Regions from separate parts of the Homo sapiens genome. Here region 1 is linked to region 2. The links are contacts of gene promoters, found by promoter capture Hi-C in human tissues and cell types (Jung and others, 2019). All regions are on one chromosome and are shown on one strand. The core of a region is centred on a gene start or on the middle of the fragment in contact, and the rest is flanking DNA. Distances in the headings are between cores, read along the strand shown.

Evidence for each region. The method cuts DNA at HindIII sites, captures the fragments that hold promoters and counts their contacts. A contact is called where the count stands out against the background at its distance.
Region 1: a fragment that was not itself captured here is called in contact with the fragment with the promoter of ELOVL4 in region 2 in 4 of the 25 tissues and cell types used here (H1 embryonic stem cells, mesenchymal stem cells, small bowel and 1 more).

The regions. Positions count from the first base shown.
Region 1 is chr6:80,071,670-80,075,117 of GRCh38, reverse strand. No RefSeq gene overlaps it. Among named protein-coding and RNA genes, the nearest start is that of BCKDHB, 33 kb to the left of the region's middle. The HindIII fragment of the contact is 4,838 bases long and covers 1-3,448 here.
Region 2 is chr6:79,945,364-79,949,204 of GRCh38, reverse strand. It overlaps ELOVL4 (ELOVL fatty acid elongase 4), which reads left to right and starts at 1,652. Exons shown (of 6, transcript NM_022726.4): 1 at 1,652-2,025. The coding sequence starts at 1,926. It overlaps LOC124901350, which reads left to right. Exons shown (of 2, transcript XM_047419628.1): 2 at 1,194-1,818. The coding sequence starts at 1,390. The coding sequence ends at 1,818. It overlaps LOC124901351 (a long non-coding RNA gene), which reads right to left and starts at 1,400. Exons shown (of 3, transcript XR_007059656.1): 1 at 1,278-1,400. RefSeq lists a silencer at 1,543-1,592. The HindIII fragment of the contact is 11,635 bases long and covers 1-3,841 here.

The DNA of each region.
Region 1 (3,448 bases), core at 565-3,064, 130 kb before region 2:
CCTTATTGGGTCAGACACCCAAATTGCAGCCATACCCTGCTCCAAAGGCCCAAACATCCACAGCACCCCTTCTTCCCTGGAGGTGGGCCAGTGCTGTGCCCTGCCCCCAAAAGATAGGAATTGTAGCTACAATCCAGTTCCGTGAGCAGTGCTAGGTTGTGCCTCAGAGTCATAGATTCTGGTCCTGTAGGCTACCTGGTCTTCCAACCCTGCTACAGAGAATGAATCTGCACCCCAAGACCCAGGTATCACTATAGGTTTGTGAGACTCTGAACCTAGGATCCTGGCCCCACAGCTGCCTCAAGCACCTGCACCTGGAATCCAATGCCACTGCAGCTGCTATTAATAGTAAGCCATGTCACACTTGATATCAAGAAGGATTCCCTCCTCTAAGTCTCTTCATTGTAGAGAAAACAAGGAGGACTTCAAAAGCCCTTGACACTGAGGAGCTATTAACAACCTACACTGCCACTGCCATCCCACAAACTTCTACAGCTTATGCTACTGAGGTGCTCACAGTTATTGTTGACTTTGAACAGCTGCAGAAGCTATTGAAGGGCAGCTTTGCTGGGTATAGTGTTCTTGACTGCACTGTACCTGTCTGAAAATAGAATCACTACATCCTTCCAAACTGGCACACCAAAACCCAACTGCAGATGAAAGTTTTTCTCTACAAGATCCACTCTAGAAGTTTTGGAAGAGGTGATTTTTCCACCAGATGCACAGACATCAACATAGGAGCACACACACACAACATTAAAAAGCAAGAAAAATCTGATACCACCAAAGAAATATAATAACTATCTGGTTACAGACCCAATGAAAGTGAAATCAACAAACTGCTGGAAAAGAAATTCAAAATAGTGATCTTAAGAAAACTCAATGAGATACAAGAAAATATAGACAGGCAATTCAACAAAATCAGAAAAAAATTTATGATACAAATGATAAATTCAACAAAGAGATAAAAATCATTGAAAAAGCCAAGAGAAATACTGCAGCTAATGATTTCTATGAATTGAAGAAATAATAGAGAGCTTCAACAGCAGCCTTGATCAAGCCAATAAAAGAATCTCTGAACTTAGGCCTGGAGCAGTGGCTTATGCCTGTAACCCCAGCACTTTGGGAGGCTGAGGTGGATGGATCACGAGGTCAGGAGTTCAAGACCATCCTGGCCAATATAGTGAAACCCTGTCTCTACTAAAAATACAAAAATTAGGTGGGCATGTGGCATGTGCCTGTAGTCCCAACTGCTCGGGGGGCTGAGGCAGGAGAATCGCTTGAACTCAGGAGGCAGAGGTTGCAGTGAGCCGAGATCGTGCTACTGCACTCCAGCCTGGGCAACAGAGCAAGATTCTGTCTCAAAAAAAAAAAAAAAAAAAAAGATCTCTGAACTTGAAGATAGGTTATCTGAAATTACCCAGCCAGAAAAAATAAAGGAAATAAGAATGAAAGAGAATAAAGAAAGGCTACAAGACTTATAGGACCCCCCATTAAGTGAACAAATGTTCTCATTTATGGGAGTTCCAGATGGAAAAGAGAAGGAAAATGGTGTAGAAAAACCTATTTAATAAAATAATAGCTAAAATTGTTCCAAGCTGGGGAGAGATATGGATATCCAGATCTAGGAGATCTAGGAGTTCAAAGGTCTCCAAAAAGATTCAGTCTAAAAATCTACTCCCTGTGGCACTTTATAGTCAAACTATCAAAAGTCAAAGACAAAGAGAATTCTAAAAACATCAAGATAAAAGCATTAAGTCACACATAAAGGAATCCCCATTAGACTAACGCATATTTCTTTGCAGTACCCTTACAGACTAGAAGAAAATGAATTATTTGATGAATTATTTGAAGTGCTGAAAGGAGAAAAACCTGCCAGTCAAGAACACTATACTCAGCAAAGCTACCTTTCAGACACGAGAGAAATAAAGCCTTTTCCAGACAAGCAAAAACTGAGGGAATTTATCACCACTATCCTAGTCTTGCAAAAATCCTTAAGCGAGTCCTACATCTTAAAGTGAAAAGATGGCTATCATGAAACCACGCAAAAGTATAAAACTCAGTGGTAGAGCAGATATACAAAGAGAAAATAATGAAACCCTATCACTACAGAAAACCACTAAACCACAATGATAAACAAGGAAGAAAGGAACAAAGGATATGCAAGACAACTGGAAAACAATTAATATAGTGACATGAATCTTCACCTATCAATAACAACCTTGAATGTAAATTAATTACATTCCCCACCTTAAAGATATAAAATGACTCAACTGTGTGCTGCCTACAAGAAATTCACTTCATCTGCAAAGACACATATAAACCGAATGTGAAAGAGATGGAAAAGGATAGTCTATGCAAACAGAAACCAAAAACAAGCAGGAGTAGCTATGCTTATTTCAGATAAAATAATTTTAAGTCAAAAACTCTAAAAAGAGACAATGAAGTTTAAAAGATGATAAAGGGATAAATTCAGCAAGAGAATATAACAATTGTAAATATATATGCACCCAACATCAGAGCACCTAGATACATAAAGCAAATATTATCAGATCTAAAGAGAGAGATAGACCCCAAAACAATAACAGCTGGGGACTTCAACCCCTTTTTACTCTTTATTAGGAGGTCATTATTCACTACATTTTAGTATAACGGTTAAGAGTTCAGGATCTGGTATTATATTATACTAGCTTGAACCTACTTGCAGATGGCCTTGGGTAAGCTTGTGATTCAGTTTCCCCATCTTCAAAATGAGGAGTATAGTAGTCACTAACTCCATGACTTGTGAAGGTTAATTGAGAATATTTAGAATAGCACCTGGCATATAGTAGGGGCTCAATACATTTTAGCCATTACTATCTTTTTTTGTATTGGCCATTCATACACTTATTCAACTTGGATTTTTTGTATAACCTACATTTGCAAAATGGTTGACTGGCAAAGCTTTAAATCATTAAGTTTGTGTGTGGGTGGGTGGAGCGGGGGGCAGTGAGGAATTCTATTACTTCTAACTAACCAGTTGCACTTTCAGTAGTTTGGTGCATTACCAGACCCAGTGGTCACCATATTGATAGTAACCAGCATAGACAGCAGCATAGCACGCTGAAATTCAGAAGAGTTAGACTCAAGCCATTTTTCAGCCTCAACTTCTGACTTCAACAATATATTTGTGTCCAAGAATAGAAAGGCAAAACACATAGCCTGACTAAAGAAACATTATACACTCTCTTACAGTCAAATTAAGTGTAGTTTAAAGTGTTATTTTCAGGACCTTGACTTTTAAATAATGATGATAAGTGACAGTATTTCTACTTTCACACATAACTACTTATGTGAGGTAGTTACTTTTACATATGAATTCTTATTTCATTTTGGTCTTCTGTGTTCCCTTTTCCCATAAATGTCACTCCCACAATGCCCAGCTAGAAACCAGTAACTGCCCTAGGCA
Region 2 (3,841 bases), core at 403-2,902:
AGTATGGGTAGAGATCTGTTCTCCCTAAAAACTCCAGGATTCCACAATATAGAAATAGTAATCAAATTTTTAGGTGAAGCTCGAACTAATCCGAACTTTGTTAGATCATCACTGTAAATGAATGGGTATTTATCCACTCCCTAAATGAAGAGACTTGACTGGATTTCTTTTTTTTATATAGCTACTAGAATCTGTTACACATAATTTAGGATTGAGACTTGAGAAATTGTCATTCCAATCCAGAAAACTTTAGATTTGCAAATATATTTGACAAATTAATAAATTAACATTTTATTTGGTTAATTTCAAGAATAGGGCATTTAAAGAAGTCTGTGTTTGCTTTAGTTCGGCAATAAAGTTCCTGCCACTCACAATAATCCTTATTATTCTCTGAAAGACATGTTATATTTTTGTCATCATAAATATTTATTAATTACTGTTTATAGCACTGGGTTAGGTACTCATCAAGCAACCAAAAATAATTCTTACCATCTAGGATGCTTCCAATATAAAATATAGACAATATATAACCAGGTCAATTGGGAAATAGATCATTTCAGTATGATAAAAGATAGTATTCACATTAACAGTGTGAAAGGGCAGGAACAATAAGACACTTGACTCACTGGTCTTTAAAATGTAGCATCCAAAATGAGCAAGTGGAGAAAAGGTTAAACAAGTAGGTGACACATTTAAAAAACAAGTAGATGAAAGGACTATTCTCAAAAATCTTGTTTTATGTGAGAAACCATCAAATTATGAATTCCAAGTACTGTATTTTTTTTACTTTTCAAGGGTAGGCTCTCCTATACCTTATCTAAACAATTTTTCAAAATAGCCACAATTACTTTGTTTTCCTCTCTACACTAAATTGCCCTTTGCCTCTTGAGCGATTATCTTTTTCAGATTCACCTCAACTTCTTCAGGTTCAAGCGGACTTCACCTGTAAGCCCCTCTCGGTTCTCCCTCTTCTCTGAACTACTAATGGCCTAATTTAGCACAATTATATTGCTTTGTTCATTCCATGTATAGTAAAAGAGTCTACAAAACACATGCAAGCATTCATGCAATTATATGTTGATTTGTTCATGGGTCGACCCCAAAGTCTATTCTCCATCGCTGAAGCATGGAAGACAAATACCCTTCACTTCTTCAGAGGCATAACACATGCACTTCTCTTGTCATGGTGACAGGCATGTGCTGGTGGAGGTCAAAGAAACAGGAACACAAGTGAAATCGAGGTGAGTGTCAGGTAAGGACCAAAGCACCACGCCTACCTCATCTTTGCCCACAGAACACCCATTCTTCCCGTGTCCTGTTTCCCAGGACGTATCCGGGGCGGATAAGAAATCACCCGTGGGGAGGCGGTGAACTCCTCCGCAGGGGCCGATGCCCGGGACAGGGGCGGGGAAGGCTAATGAGGCGACTTGTGCGGGGAGGGGCCAAGGAGGAGCCCAGGTGTCCCGCTCCCGCTCGACGGCGCGCGCCTGCGCGAGCCCAGTTGGCGTCGCACCCTTGAGCGCAGCATCCCTACGCCAGCGAGTCCCAATACTAGGGAGGGAGGGAGGGAGGAGGGGCGGCCGGCCCCCCGCCCCCGCGCGCGGCCACGTGACGCCGGCTGAGGAGATTGGAGGGGCGGCTGCGCGAGGCTGCAGACTGGTGCAGCGCACTGTGCTGGCGGCTGGGCCTCCTCCACCTCCTCGTCTTTCTCCCGGGAACCTTGACGACGCCTTCCGCTTGGCCCTGCCTTCTGCCGCATCCCCGCCGCCGCGGCGCCTTGAGGAGCAGGAGAAGACGCAGCCGGGCCGCCGCCGTTAGAGGGGTTCCCGGCCGCCGCTCGCCCCGTCGGCCGCCACCGCCTCCGGGGTCAGCCCTCTCTCTGGGTCTCCGCTTTCTCCTGCCGCCAGCGCCCGCTCATCGCCGCGATGGGGCTCCTGGACTCGGAGCCGGGTAGTGTCCTAAACGTAGTGTCCACGGCACTCAACGACACGGTAGAGTTCTACCGCTGGACCTGGTCCATCGCAGGTAAAGCCGCTGACTTCCCCATCCTCGCTCGGTCCCCCGCGGGGGGTCACCGGCCCCTGGTCTCGCAGCTCCCGGGCCCGGCCCCACAGGCCCCCGCGCCCTGCGGCTTTCGGATGCTGCGGATCAGCGGAGGGGCCGGCGCGGGCACTGCGGTTGAGCACTGGTTAATCTGATCCGAATGTTAAGGCCTCCCCTCCCCCGACACTCGCAGGGTTTTCTTCTGAGCTCCCTCCATCTCTCATCAGCTCTCGGATGCGGGAGCTGACATATCAGATGGAGCCTGTGCAGCCAGGAGCTCCTCGCAGGAGCCGCCCCACCCTGTGCTCCCACATCTCCCGAGCTCGCCTCCCTCTTCCCCGTGCACAGGATTCCTTTTAACATTTAGTCCTATTTTGTATGGAGAGCGGGCTGGGGAGGAAGGAGGGCTTCAGGGGCAGCTGAAGGTACAGGAGGTTTCTTCAGCCTCCTGGTCGCTTTGACAGAACCCTGCTAATCTTTTCTTCTATCTAGCTCCTTCATCTATAGTATAATTCGGACTGAAAAGTAAAATAATATTGTTTGGCTCCTTGAACCTTGAAGAATGTTAGTTTCCGAGGCATTTTCAACAGCAAATATGTTTGAAGTGATTGTCTATAATGGCTTTGCGCACTGCAGTGCAGTCAGGGGGAGGGGGAGGCCAAAACACCGGGGAAGAAATCAGTCTTTAGGAAGGGGGTCTCTACAGCAACACCTAGAGGTTGTCCCAGATGCCTACATATATACAGTTCTTAAATCAGCAAACTTTTCTTTAGCTGTTGCAGTTAATTTGGCAGGGCTGTCAATTGTTTGATTTATGCAGCTTTCCTAGCGTCCAACTGTGATATTATATTTTTACATTGTACTGTTTATTTCTTCATTTGCTTCGCTGCTTTTGATTTTAAAGCATTTAAAAGTCTTTGAAATCTAAAATAAGGTTTAAAGGATTTCAGAAATGATTTTACGAGGTCAATTTTTCTGGTCCTTTTGCAGTATCACACTGCATCCTATCAGTGAAGGATATTAACGTTCCATCTTATGACTCTGCCTTCCCTACTTCGAAATGAAAATGTACTCCTGTAGTTTTTGTGTTCATTGTTGTTAGAGGAAATTAGACAGTGGTTACAGCATGAATGTAGTCCGATACATAGGGCTTATGTTTTGGGAAAAACGTATGCTGGAATTATTTTTGTGAGAGACAAAATGATTATTTGGCATTAATACTGCATTCACTTCTTTAGAAAAGTATGTTCTTTTTCAGAAGATCTCAACTTTGACACTGGGAAATAAGCTATTTAATAAGCCATTACAGCTGAAAATGGTTAAAAGGCAGTTTTCAATGGAGTGTTTCTTCAGTTTTTTTTTTTGTTTCTATGCGCTATTACACTGATGTTACACTGTACCTGCAAAAACTGGGAAAGATGTGCCCTTCCCTTCACGTCTGTGATTTCGGTTCTTTAAACGTTGCATCAGGGCTTCCCATTACACAATTGTATAGAGCTGAACATCAGACAAGTTCTTTAGCAGGTAATTGCACTTCGCACACCTAGGAGTCAGACACTGTTGAGATACTCCAGTCTCCATATAGCCAGAGCCACACCCAGGAGTTCTCGGTCCTGTCATTCCTATCCTATCCCGGAGCTTTCCCATCTCTTGAGTCTCAGAAGGAAAAATTGAGGGCAAAGGTAGAATACACCTTTCTGTGATGGTGAATTCCTTCCTGATGATGTTTGTGTAAAAGAAACCACACACACACAAATGAAACAGGAAATTTTGTGCAGTTGCCGCATGTGAAAGCTTG